Linked DNA regions of Homo sapiens: all the other regions are linked to region 2. Evidence: promoter capture Hi-C in 16 types of primary human blood cells and fetal thymus (Javierre and others, 2016). All regions are on one chromosome and are shown on one strand. The core of a region is centred on a gene start or on the middle of the fragment in contact, and the rest is flanking DNA. Distances in the headings are between cores, read along the strand shown.

Region 1 (3,940 bases), core at 855-3,354, 650 kb after region 2:
CCAGGATGGCAGCCCCTGACCTGGCCCACGGTAAGTCCTGGTGGGGCTCCTTCTCAGAGCCTCTGCTCTAGGTCCTGATACACAGTGTGTGTATCAGGCCCATGGACGGGGCCTGAGTAGTCACGCTCCGGGTTCCTATTGCAGCTGCTGGAGTGAGCCAGAGAATGCTGACCTGTAAGTCAGCCCCAGGGTGTGTGCTTTGGGGAGGGATGATGTGTAAACTCCTTCATGAGTTTTCTCACCACGGGCAAATGAAGAGTCACGTTCCTCAAGGCGTACCGTTCCATATCTGCAATAGGAGCCTGTTACCATTTCCTGATGGGCGGCATAGCTCACAAACATTTTGTGTCACCAGGCGAAACAGACTACCCTGGCACTGTATGGCTGTGTGTGTGTCTGTGTGTGTTTTCCTGAGGCACTGTATGGCTCTGTGTGTGTGTTTTCCTGAGGCACTGTATGGCTGTGTGTGTGTGTGTGTGTGTGTGTGTGTATTTTCCTGAGGGACTATATTTTCCTGAGGCATTGTATGGCTGTGTGTGTGTGTATTTTCCTGAGGCAGTTTATGGCTGTATGTGTGTGTTTTCCTGAGGCACTGTATGGCTGTGTGTGTCTTTTCCTGAGTGTGCAAGAGTACATGGGAATTCCCTCGCTCTGTATGACTGTGTGTGTGTGTGTGTGTTCCTCAGGCAGTGTATGGCTGTGTGTGTGTGTGTTTTCTTGAGGAAGTGTATGGCTGTGTGTGTGTGTGTGTTTTCCTGAGGTACTGTATGGCTTTGTGTGTGTGTTTTCCTGAGTGTGCAGGTGTATGTGGGAATTCCCTGACACTGTATATCTGTGTGTGTGCGTTTTCCTGAGTGTGCAGGAGTACGTGATAATTTCCTGCTAGGATGGAATGACTTCCGGGTCCATGAGTGTGGAATTAGGGTCAGCTCTGGGTTCTCATGCCTTCTTGCCTTCTTTGTTTTTTAGGAGGTCATGTTTCTAGGGACTCAGTCTGCCTTCATGAAGAACAGACACAGGCAGCAGGGATGGTGGCTGGCTGGCTGATAAATTGTTACCAGGTATGCCAAAACTGTATTTTTTCTTAAAATAACATACTGGTATTCAGCAGATAGACAAGTTTCTGTCTGAGCAGACTTGTCTGCACAGCCTCACTCAAGGACCGAGTCCCTAGTTGAACGCCTCCAGGGAGAAGAGCCTGGCTGGTCAGGTGTTACTGTGAAAATCCTCCCCGTATTTCAGTGTTACTTTTTTTTTTTGAGACGGAGTCTCGCTTTGTCGCCCAGGCTGGAGAGCAATGGCCCAATCTCGGCTCACTGCAATCTCCGCCTCCCAGGTTCAAGCAATTCTCCTGCCTCAGCCTCCCAAGTAGCTGGGATTACAAGTGCCCACCAGCATGCCTGGCTAATTTTTGTATTTTTAGTAGAGACGGGGTTTTGCCATGTTGGCCAGGCTGGTCTTGAACTGCTGATCTCAAGTGATCCACCCGCTTTGGCCTCCCAAAGGGCTGGGATTACAGGCTTGCACCACTGCGCCCAGCCACAACATTACTCATTATTTTCACCCTTGTGCCAAATGCGTGTTTCGTACTTTGCTTAGTGCTCTGACACATGGTAAGGAAGGGGAAGGTATCCTCTCTGGGAACTTATTTCCACATCACGAGTTACCACTTGTTTGTAGTGTGCTCAGGAGAGGGACATAAGGCGAGGGGAGTGCCCAGTGAGCGTGGTGAGAGAAGCTCACATGTTAGAGGTGTCGTTGCGGCCGTGTGACTGGAGGAGAGCGACAGGGTGCGCGTGACTGGAGGAGCGCGACAGGGCACGCGTGACTGGAGGAGAGCGACAGGGTGCGCGTGACTGGAGGAGAGCGACAGGGCGTGTGTGCGGGCAGAGAAGGGTTCCTGGGACCACTGGGCCATGGGGTAGACAGTAGGAGGCCTCACAGTCCCATAGGCGTAGGGCCCCGCCTCCTCATTCTTCAGTGAATACCGATGGACACGTTGGAAGGCTCCAACCGTCATGTGTGATGATTTAGGACGCGGTGACCTTTGACGACGTGGCTGTGGACTTCACCCAGGAGGAATGGACTTTACTGGACCCATCTCAGAGAGACCTCTACAGAGATGTGATGCTGGAAAACTACGAGAACCTGGCCTCAGTAGGTGAGGCTGCCACCGTCCTTTGCAACTTCTGTGGAACCAATACTTGATGTGTCCTTACTGTGTTCCAGGGTTGGTGACGGCAAAGCCGAGTACCACGGGAAGTAAGAGATATAACAACTGTGCTAGTAGGCTTGGTGCTAGTGTGGTCGTTTCCAGAATGTGGTCCTGGGGTCATGAGCATCACCGTCACTCCTCTAGAAACATGCATTCTGAGGCTTCAGCTGGGACACATTGGATCAGAATGTCTCCTGGGGGTGGGCCTGTCATCTCTCCTGTAACAAGCCCTCCCGACGATGCCAATTCACTCTAACACTGAGAACCACTGGGTAGTAGTTTCCCAAGTGAATGAAGATCTCTTATTGCACTTCTGTTATTTCCTATTTGAGTAAGAGTCTTTGTGGTTTTTACGTGTATATTTAAGCCTGAATGTGGGCTTCAGGAATCAGAGATAACCAGTTTCTTTGGGGCGCAGAAGGATGGAGTATTTGCACTTTGAGCCCTTTTGAAACAATTTCACTGCATTCTTTAGAAATGTAGTTCCTGGCATGCCACTGCACTCCAGCCTGGGTGACAGAGCGAGACTCCATCTCAAAAAAAAAACAAACGTAGTTCCTGGCCGGGCGCGGTGGCTCATGCCTGTAATCCGAGCACTCTGGGAGGCTGGGTGCAGTGGCTCAGGGCTGTAATCCCAGCACTCTGGGAGGCCGGGCGCGGTGGCTCAGGGCTGTAATCCCAGCACTCTGGGAGGCCAGGCGCAGTGGCTTAGGGCTGTAATCCGAGCACTCTGGGAGGCTGGGTGCAGTGGCTCAGGGCTGTAATCCGAGCACTCTGGGAGGCTGGGTGCAGTGGCTCAGGGCTGTAATCCCAGCACTCTAGGAGGCCAGGCGCAGTGGCTCAGGGCTGTAATCCCAGCACTCTGGGAGGCAGGGTGTGGTGGCCACGCCTGTAATCCCAGCACTCTGGGATGCTGGACGCAGTGGCTCATGCCTGTAATCCCAGCACTTTGGGAGGCTGGGCGCAGTGGCTCACGCCTGTAATCCGAGCACTCTGGGACGCCAGACGCAGTGGCTCATGCCTGTAATCCTAGCACTTTTGAGAGGCCGGGGTGGGCGGATCACAAGGTCAGGAGATTGAGACCATTCTGACCAACACGGTGAAACCCCATCTCTACTAAAAATACAAAAAACTAGCCAGGCGTGGTGGCGGGCACCTATAGTCCCAGCTACTTAGGAGGCTGAGGCAAGAGAATCACTTGAACCCAGGAGGCAGACGTTGCAGTGAGCCGAGATTGCACCACTGCACTCCAGCCTGGGCAACAGCGCGAGACGCTGTCTCAAAAAATAATAAAAAAAAGGAAATGTAGTTCCTGTTCACGGGTAGGTTTGTCATCCCCTGCCTGAGCCTCTTCCATCGATGTCTCTTTCCCTGTGTACAGGACATCACCTGTTCCAACCCAGTGTGATCTATTGGCTGGAGCAGGAAGAGGAGTTGAGGGCAGGGCGGAGAGCAGTTCTCCAAGGTAAGTGTGAAGAGCACGCCTGGTCGATGTCAAGTTTAGCAGCTGTGGGAGGATCCTGAGTGTCAAGTTTAGCGGCTATGGAAGGATTGTGTCAAGTTAAGCGGCTGTGGGAGGATCCTGAGTGTCGAGTTTAGCGGCTGTGGAAGAATCCTGAGTGCACGTTTTAAGATGCATTCTGGCACAGAACATGAGGCTGTTGGCTCTGGGTATCCTGAGCTTCCCGTAATTCCTTATTTTCCATCTGATCTGGATTTTCCCTT
Region 2 (4,168 bases), core at 1,615-4,114:
AACGATCTTGGATGTGCCTTTTGCTGGACGTAGCAGCTCATCTCTTCCGGGAAGTCACAGAGGAGTAGCACGGCCCAGGTGCCGCCGCACGAAGGCTGCGGTTCCGTGAGCGCCGTCGCAGGCTTCTGGAGCGGGGCCACCATTTTCACTCGAGCACAGGCCGCAGGCTCTGGGTGCCCCACACCCTCAGCAAAACCGCTCATGATTTCAATTTGATAGAAACGTGGACCGGGCGCAGTGGCTCACGCCTGTAATCCCAACACTTTGGGAGGCCGAGGCGGGAGGATCACGAGGTCAGAAGATCGAGACCGTCCTGGCTAACACGGTGAAACCCCGTCTCCACTAAAAATACAAAAAAATTAGCCGGGCGTGGTGGCGGGCGCCTGTAGTCCCAGCTACTCGGGAGGCTGAGGCAGGAGAATCGCTTGAACCCAGGGGGCGGAGGTGGCAGGGAGCCGAGATGGCGCTACTGCACTCCAGCCTGGGCGACAGAGTGAGACTCTGTCTCAAAAAAAAAAAAAAAGAAAGAAAGAAAGAAAAGAAATGTGCCCACCCTGTCTGCTTCTGCACTTGCCTTTGTCATGCAACCTCACAGATGGTCTTCACCCGTTTATTTATATCTGTGTATACACACTGGAGGTTCATGCGTTAGCATTTTTAACAACCGCGATGTTGCAAATGTTGTACCAGATTACTATTACAACAGTACAATCATCTGCTCATCAACATCTGGGTGGTTTTCTGGTTTTTTCCTTTGTTCTTTTTTTTTCTTGAGACGGAGTCTCGCTCTGTTGCCCAGGCTGGAGTGCAGTGGCATGATCTGGGCTCACTGCAAACTCCGCCTCCCGGGTTCATGCCATTCTCCTGCCTCAGCCTCCCGAGTAGCTGGGACTACAGGCGCCCGCCACCACGCCCGGCTAATTTTTTGTATTTTTAGTAGAGACGGGGTTTCACTGTGTTAGCCAGCATGGTCTCGATCTCCTGACCTCGCGATCTGCCCGCCTCGACCTCCCAAAGTGCTGGGATTACAGGCATGAGCCACCGTGCCCGGCTCCTTTGTTCTTTTAGTTATGACTACTAACAGACCTGCTATGTCCTTGTTCATGTCTCATGCCCACGGGCAGATGACACCCCAGTCCGGTGGCCCACCTGTACCACTGGGCATCAGAATCCCCTGAGAGCTCTTCATGGACCACAGGGCCCTGGGACCTCACTCCCAGTCACTGGTGCGGCCACTCTGGGGCAGAGCCCAGGAAGGCACATTGCTAACAACCCCTAGTGATACTGAGGCTGCTTGCCCGGGTCCCACTTGGAGAACCCTGTCGAGGGTGGCACTGCTGGTCACAGGGCACTTCTTTTAACTAACATTGTTTTCCAAAGAGGCTGTGACCAACAGAGTTTACTGTTCATGAAACTCAGATCGCAGACAGGCACGTGTCTGTCACAGCCGGTGCCGGCCGCTCCTTTCCATGGACAGTAACGTCCATGCAGGCTTATGTTCATCAGCTGAGAAAAGGGCACTTGCTGGGTGGGACCTTGTCTTATCGACACATAGAGTCTGCAGAAGGTGCCAACTGGTGTCGCAGGGCTGCTCCTGACACGACCCAAAATCACCAGGGTTGAATTCACATTCCTCTTACGTAACCATAACAAGTTGCTGGGACTACAGGCACGCACCACGGTGCCCTGTTAATTTTTTTGTAGAGACAGGGGTCTTGCTTTGTTGCCCAGGCTGGTCTCAAACTCCTGGAGGAGGTGGTCCTCCCACCTTGGACTCCCAAAGTGCTAGGATTACAGGTGTGAGCCACAGTGCCAGGCCTGTGGTACCTCTTCCAAGGACACTAATCCTATCAGATCAGGACCCCACCCTTATAATCTCATTTAACCTTAATTACTTCTCTAAAGGCCCTTTCTGCAAACACAGTCACATTGGGGATTAAGGCTTCACATACAAATGTTAGGGGGACAGAACTCGGTCCATAGCATGGAGTCGCACAGGTTTTGTCCTTTTGCGATTGGCTTGCTTTACTTAGTATGTTTCCAAGGTTCACCCATGTTGTGGCATGGGTCTGAACTTCACTCTTCTTGATGACTGACTCACACTCCACTGCATGGACAGCCAGCATTTTGTCTGTTCCTCAGTTTGTGGACATCTCGCCCCCTTGTTTCCACCTTGGGGATATGGAGGAAGATGGGATGAGCGAAGCCCTGTGATCCCCAGGACCAGCCACGTCGTTGGCAAGGGTCAGCGCAGGATGAAACCGCCGGCCCCTGGTCTCCGGCCGGGCCCTCCGTCTCTAGAGCAGCTCGCACCGCTGCAGCCCCTGGACGCCCCGGGCTGTGGACGCGCCCGTGGGACACCGCGCTGAGCAGGACACGCGACAGGTCCCCTCACTGGCGCTGCTCGCGTTGAACCGCGCGGGGAGCCAGGCAGCCCACGGGAAAGGTAAGAATTGTTAGGCTTTTAATCTAAAGTCGATACCTCAAAAAATAATTCCGGAGGTAAGCATTTAATATCAACATTCAATAAAGCAGGAAGTATCAGCCCGACGAAGACCGCCTTAAGTTTTCCACTTTGATGAACTCGATCATCCCCGGGGATGAAGAACCCGCCGGCCCAGCCGGAGCCCCGTCACGTGACCCGGCGGCCGCGGGGAGCTCTGTGCGCAGGCGCGGATCCGCACGCCCGCCGCCTGAGAAGCGAACTCCCCGTGGCGCCTGCGCTGTAGCGGGGGTTCGGCTGGCTCGCGCGGGTCCGGGCGCGCGCTGCGGGGGCGGAACCGCGCGGAGGCCGGAAGGAAGCTGGAGGGGGCGGGGCGAGGGAGGGAAGCCCGCCGGCCGTAGGACTACCGTCGCGGCCTGATGACGTCGCACAATGGCCGGCCCCCGCGGGTAGTGGAGCCCGTTTGTTCCGCCCGTGTCGAGCCTGGAGCCAGAACCTGTGAAGAGCGGAAGGGCCAAGGGACGTCTTCTCCACGCCGCTCCGACTCCAGGGGAGCCGTGGCCTCCTCTCCGCCCTAGCGCTGAGGTTAGCTGGGGCCGGGAGGGCGGCGGGAGGCCGGGCCGGCGGCGGCGGGAGGAGGAGGCCGCCGAGGCGGCGGCGGCGGCCGCGGGAGGGAGGCCCGGGAGCCCGGCGCGCCTCCGGCCGTGCGGACCCACCGGCCGAAGCGTGGCCCTCGGGCCCAGGGAAGGGGACCTTGAGACAGGCACCACCCCGAGTTCCGTCCGTAAGCCGGCCCCGCGGTCCTGGGGCGCCCTGGGCGCCCGAGCTCCTCGCGCGCTGCCTCCGCGCCCCGCGGCAGAGTTTATTTTCCTGAAGCTGTCATTTCTCTTCCGGGCCACTCGCGTGGCACATGTGTGCCGCCGGCTAAGGGGCGGTGAGAGGCGCCCAGATTCACCTCCAGAGTAGGTCATCCCGGGCTGCTGCTGGGCTCTTCGGAGAACTTTGAGCTCTTTATGAACCTCCTGGAACTTGCTCCGCAGCTTCAAAGTGTGCACAGGTTGGGCGCAGTGATTGCCCCAAGACGCGCGCCGGTCTCTTAGGAGTATGTAACTTCCTTGCCCCTTGGATTAGGAGATCAGAGGTGCTGGGTCCTTTATATAGACCAACTGCAGCTATAATGCTGGAAGAACTGAAACTTAACAGCCTTACTCCTGCCAAACATTTTTCCTGAATACTTTATGACAACTGAGTTTGCCGGGTAGAGTGGCCGTTTTAAATGAGCTTTGTTCGAACAACGCTAACTCATTTGCAAGAGTAGGTCATTCTTCAGACCCATTTGGGAAAATGGAAGAAGAGAGTGTTTGGCATCTGAAGTACCGTTTGGGGTGTAGCAAGGTGCTCATCATGTCTCCTGTTAGACTCACCTCCAGCCTGTTGTCTGTAGAGTAGTCCTTTCCCGTTCAGTAGTTGGGATTATCCGGGTGAGGTTTGACCTCGGCTGAATCCCGCTTCCCAGCTTTGGGAGGAGAGTCTTTTCCTGATAATTTTACTATCTAAGGGCAGTATGGAGCCCAGCCAGCCCTGGAACCAGTCAAATGTGTCCCAAAGCCGGAAACTCCTCTCCCGTTGTAGGTGGGACATGCTGAAATATTGTAAGAAAGCTTTGTGGAGTCACTCCAGAAAGCAAACAGGTAAGTTAACCTATGGCCTACATCGTGTTTACAG
Region 3 (3,902 bases), core at 1,146-3,645, 600 kb before region 2:
GTTGCGGTGAGCTGAGATCGTGCCATTGCACTCCAGCCTGGGCAACAAGAGTGAAACTCTGTCTCAAAAAAAAAAAAAATAAGTTTAGTTTATCCCTTTAATAATCTTTGCTTCTGGTTCTTACTCTGGAAAAAAGAAGGCTGTATTGATGACATGTAGCTTTGATCTTCAAGCTGACTACTGACGACTCTGAGCTGAAAGATCCTCTTCAGAGGACGCAGGTTTAGTGTCACCACATAAGTTTCATGCTAGTTGCGCCTGACAGGGCCCCTCAGTCAGGCTATGTGGTTTCTGCTTCCCTGGAGCAGCTCCGAAGGCTGAGCAAGATCCCAGTGTTGATCCTAGCACCAGTGTTTGAAGAACATGAGCGTGCGTAGGTGGAGTTGGAATGGACCCTCCCCCCACAGCTTAGATCTGCATATTTTCCTGTCCGATCATTTTTTAAAAGTATACTTCTTTTTCTTTTTGAAAAAGTGATAAATGCACAGGATAAAAATGGAAATATTATTAGAGGATGAAAAGTGAAAAATAATTTCCTTTTCACCCATGCCCCAGGCTGTTGTAGGTCTTCTGTATCTTAACCTGGAAATATTCTGTGCATATCTGACATACTTCTTAAAAATAAAGCATGTCGTCTGCACTGCCCTCGTCCACACTGCCCTGCCCAGTTGATATTCACGGGATCCTGCACCTTGGGAGCCGCTTTTCGGGGGCTCTTGTTGACTCCTGAAGCTGCGTGGTATATTCCATTCTTAGCTATGCAATGCTGACATCCATTCTTTTGCTGCTAAAAACAATGCCTTACGTTGTTTTGTTGTTGTTGTTGTTGTTGTTGTTGTTTGTATGTAGGTCTTTGCACACATATGTGAATGTCTGTGCTGGCTGAATGTTGTGTGGGGCATGGCCAGGTTAAGGGCTGTGGCCATTTAGCATTTTGATAGCTATTGCCCTTCAAAGAGGTTGTACCCATTTACACCCCCAGCAAAAGCGCAACAGCCATGTTTTCTGATATCTTCTGGCGAAGTGTGTCATATTTTGTGATTTTTGCCAATCTGATTGGTGAAAAATGTTGTCTTGTTTAAATTGTTTTAAAAAGATTACACATCGAGATTGACTTTTTTTTTTTTTTTTGAGACAGAGTCTCCCCCTGTCACCCAGTGTGGAGTGCAATGGCGTGATCTCAGCTCACTGCAACCTCTGCCTCCCCATTTCAAGCGATTCTCCTGCCTCAGCCTCCTCAGTAGCTGGGATTACAGGCACGCGCCGCCATCCCCGTCTAATTTTTTGTATCTTTAGTAGAGACGGGCTTTCACCATGTTGGCTAGGCTGGTCTCGAACACCTGACCTCTTGATCCACCCACCTTAGCCTCCCAAAGTGCTGGATTACAGGCATGAGCCACCACGCCTGGCCTGACTATCTTTACATAACTTGTTTTTCTGTGAATTCATTTTCATTTCCTTATGCTCATTTTTGATTAGGTTGATTGGTCTTTTTTTTTTTTTTTTTTGACAGAGTCTTGCTCTGTCACTCAGGCTGGAGTGCAGTGGCACGGTCTCAGTTCACTGCAACCTCCGCCTCCCGGGTTTAAGCGATTCTCCTTTCTCAGCCTCCTTAGTAGCTGGGATTACAGGCATGTGCCACCATACCCTGCTAATTTTCGTATTTTTAGTAGAGATGGGGTTTTGCCACATTGGCCAGGCTGACAGGTGATCCACCCGCCTTGGCCTTCCAAAGTGCTGGGATGACAGATGTGAGTTTCCTAGTCTTGATTTTGATTTTCCTATTTGCATTTCTGTGGTATAGTTTAGCATGTTCTTCTGGCCTCTGTATATCCTGTCACTTAGGAAATGTTAGGATTCTAGAAGCTTAATTAGATTCAGCATTTTTGTTTGTTCGGTAGGGGAGCCTCCCACATAGATGGTGCTGAATTCTTCATTAATGAGGCAGATAGTGTGTGTTTTTCTTTTTCTGATGGTAACTCTGTTACCTAGATTCTTAATTCATCAGGGATTGCAAAACGATGACTGTTCTTTTGTTAGAATGCTTTTATACAGAGAAACATTCTATTGCTTATGATGTGGTTTTTCAGTGACGTGATTTGTATAGAAAGGCAGAATAAATGCTTGATTTTTTCTTTTTATTACCATTAAACAAATTAAAGGCTTAATAATATTATTAACTCATGAATTTAAAAATATTTCCCTTTCAACCCAGTGAAGTTGTTACCGTTGTTGATAGTCTGCTTTTCTTGTTCACAAGGGCATCAGGGATGACAGAATTGCACACAAGGCAAGGCGTCCTCAGACAGAACTCTACCGGCCGGGCGCGGTGGCTCGGCCTGTCATCCCAGCACTTTGGGAGGCTGAGGTGGGCGAATCACCTGAGGTCGGGAGTTTGAGACCAGCCTGGCCACAGAGGGAAACCCCGTCTCTACTAAAATACAAAAAGTAGCCAGGTGTGCTGGTGGGCACCTATAATCACAGCTACTCGGGAGGCTGAGGCTGGAGAATCGCTTGAACCCAGGAGGCGGAGGTTTCAGTGAGCCGAGATCCTGCCACTGCACTCTGGCCTGGGCAACAGAGTGAGACTGCATCTCAAAAAAAAAAAAAAGAACTCTACCACTTCTTACCGCCACTGAATGAACATTGTAACATTTGTTTTTGTTAGTTTTTGAAAATTGCTCAGAAAGAACTCTACCACTCCTTATAGCCATTGAACATTGTGAACATTGTAACATTGGTTTTTGTTTTTGAAAGTTGTTACATTTGTTTTTTATATGTACTCCCAATTCCTCCCAGTTTCAAGCAGTTACATTGTGTCTGCGTTTAGCACATAGCCTTCATCTCCTCTGTCTCAGTCCTGCGTGGAGATAGGGTGCTCCGCTAGCCGCTCTTCCCAATGCCTCTCCAGTGGTTTGGTTTTCCGAAGCTTGTTTGTTGCCAGTGCCTTCAGGAGGGAATTTTTGGGAATACTGTTCTCTGAGGACTGGATGCTGCCTTTATACTTGAAAGTAATTTTGTCTGGATATAAAATTCTTGGCTCACATATCTTTCCTTGTGTGTCTTAAATACGTTAATCCTTTTTTTTTTCTGTTGGAGTTTGATAGTTAATTTTCTTTCCGTTATAAGTCACCTAGTCTTTTGCTTGGATGGCTAAAAAATTTTTCTTTAAATAGTGTTTTTATTGGGCTGTATCTTGGTGTTCTGTCTTGGTGTTGTATCTTGGTGTTGTGTCTTGGTGTTGGTGGTTTTGTTTTTGTTTTTTTCCCCCTAGGTTGTAGTGTATTATTTTAACGAGTAGTTTCAAGCACCCTCCGTCCTGTTTTCTGGAGAGCTTTCTTGAATTACAGTTTTTGGTATTCCATTTCATTGCTTTAGTTTTCCTTTTTTCGAGACAGGGTCTCGTTCTGTTGTCCAGGGTGGAGTGTAGTGGTGCGATCACAGCTTGCCACAGCCTTGCCCTCCCAGACTCAAGTGATTTTCCCACCTCAGCCTCCTGAGTAGCAGGGACCACAGGCAGGTGCCACTGTACCCAGTTAATTTAAAAAATATTTTATGGAGTCGGGGTCTCGGTACATGCCCAGGCTGCTCTTGAGCTATCAACCTCAAATGGTCCTCCTGCCTTAGCCTCCCAAAGTATTGGGATTACAGGCATGAGCCACTGTGCCTGGCCAGTTTTCATCTTTAGCATCTCCTATTATACATATGTTGGGTCTTCTTTTCCTGTCTTATGTGCTACTTTTTCTTGAGCTTTTTTCATCTCTTTCATTTCTTTTTTATTCTTGAAAATTTTGTCATTTTATTTTTCTTAAGGCACCATTGTGTTTATTTGTTCTAAGGTTCTTCTAGTTTAATCTTCATTTCTGAAGTTACTTTTTCTTTTGTTTCTAATATATTCTGAG

Evidence for each region. Contacts are between HindIII fragments. The CHiCAGO score rates a contact against its expected background, and 5 or more counts as called.
Region 1: a contact is called between a fragment that was not itself captured here and the fragment with the promoter of ZC3H18 in region 2, in 8 of 17 cell types (naive B cells, neutrophils, total CD4 T cells and 5 more). The highest score is 9.2, in naive B cells.
Region 3: a fragment that was not itself captured here is called in contact with the fragment with the promoter of ZC3H18 in region 2 in 1 of 17 cell types (endothelial precursors); the score reaches 9.4 in endothelial precursors.

Annotation. Positions count from the first base shown.
Region 1 is chr16:89,221,123-89,225,062 of GRCh38, forward strand. It overlaps ZNF778 (zinc finger protein 778), which reads left to right. Exons shown (of 7, transcript NM_001201407.2): 2 at 1-30; 3 at 970-1,061; 4 at 2,035-2,161; 5 at 3,597-3,680. The coding sequence starts at 6. Among named protein-coding and RNA genes, the nearest start is that of ZNF778, 5.4 kb to the left of the region's middle. The HindIII fragment of the contact is 7,033 bases long and covers 1-3,940 here.
Region 2 is chr16:88,567,539-88,571,706 of GRCh38, forward strand. It overlaps ZC3H18 (zinc finger CCCH-type containing 18), which reads left to right and starts at 2,865. Exons shown (of 18, transcript NM_144604.4): 1 at 2,865-3,028. RefSeq lists enhancers at 2,046-2,155, 2,266-2,315, 3,406-3,455 and silencers at 2,556-2,885, 3,066-3,135. The HindIII fragment of the contact is 17,903 bases long and covers 1-4,102 here.
Region 3 is chr16:87,968,420-87,972,321 of GRCh38, forward strand. The region is part of intron 1 of BANP (BTG3 associated nuclear protein); the gene reads left to right. Among named protein-coding and RNA genes, the nearest start is that of BANP, 19 kb to the left of the region's middle. The HindIII fragment of the contact is 1,063 bases long and covers 1,865-2,927 here.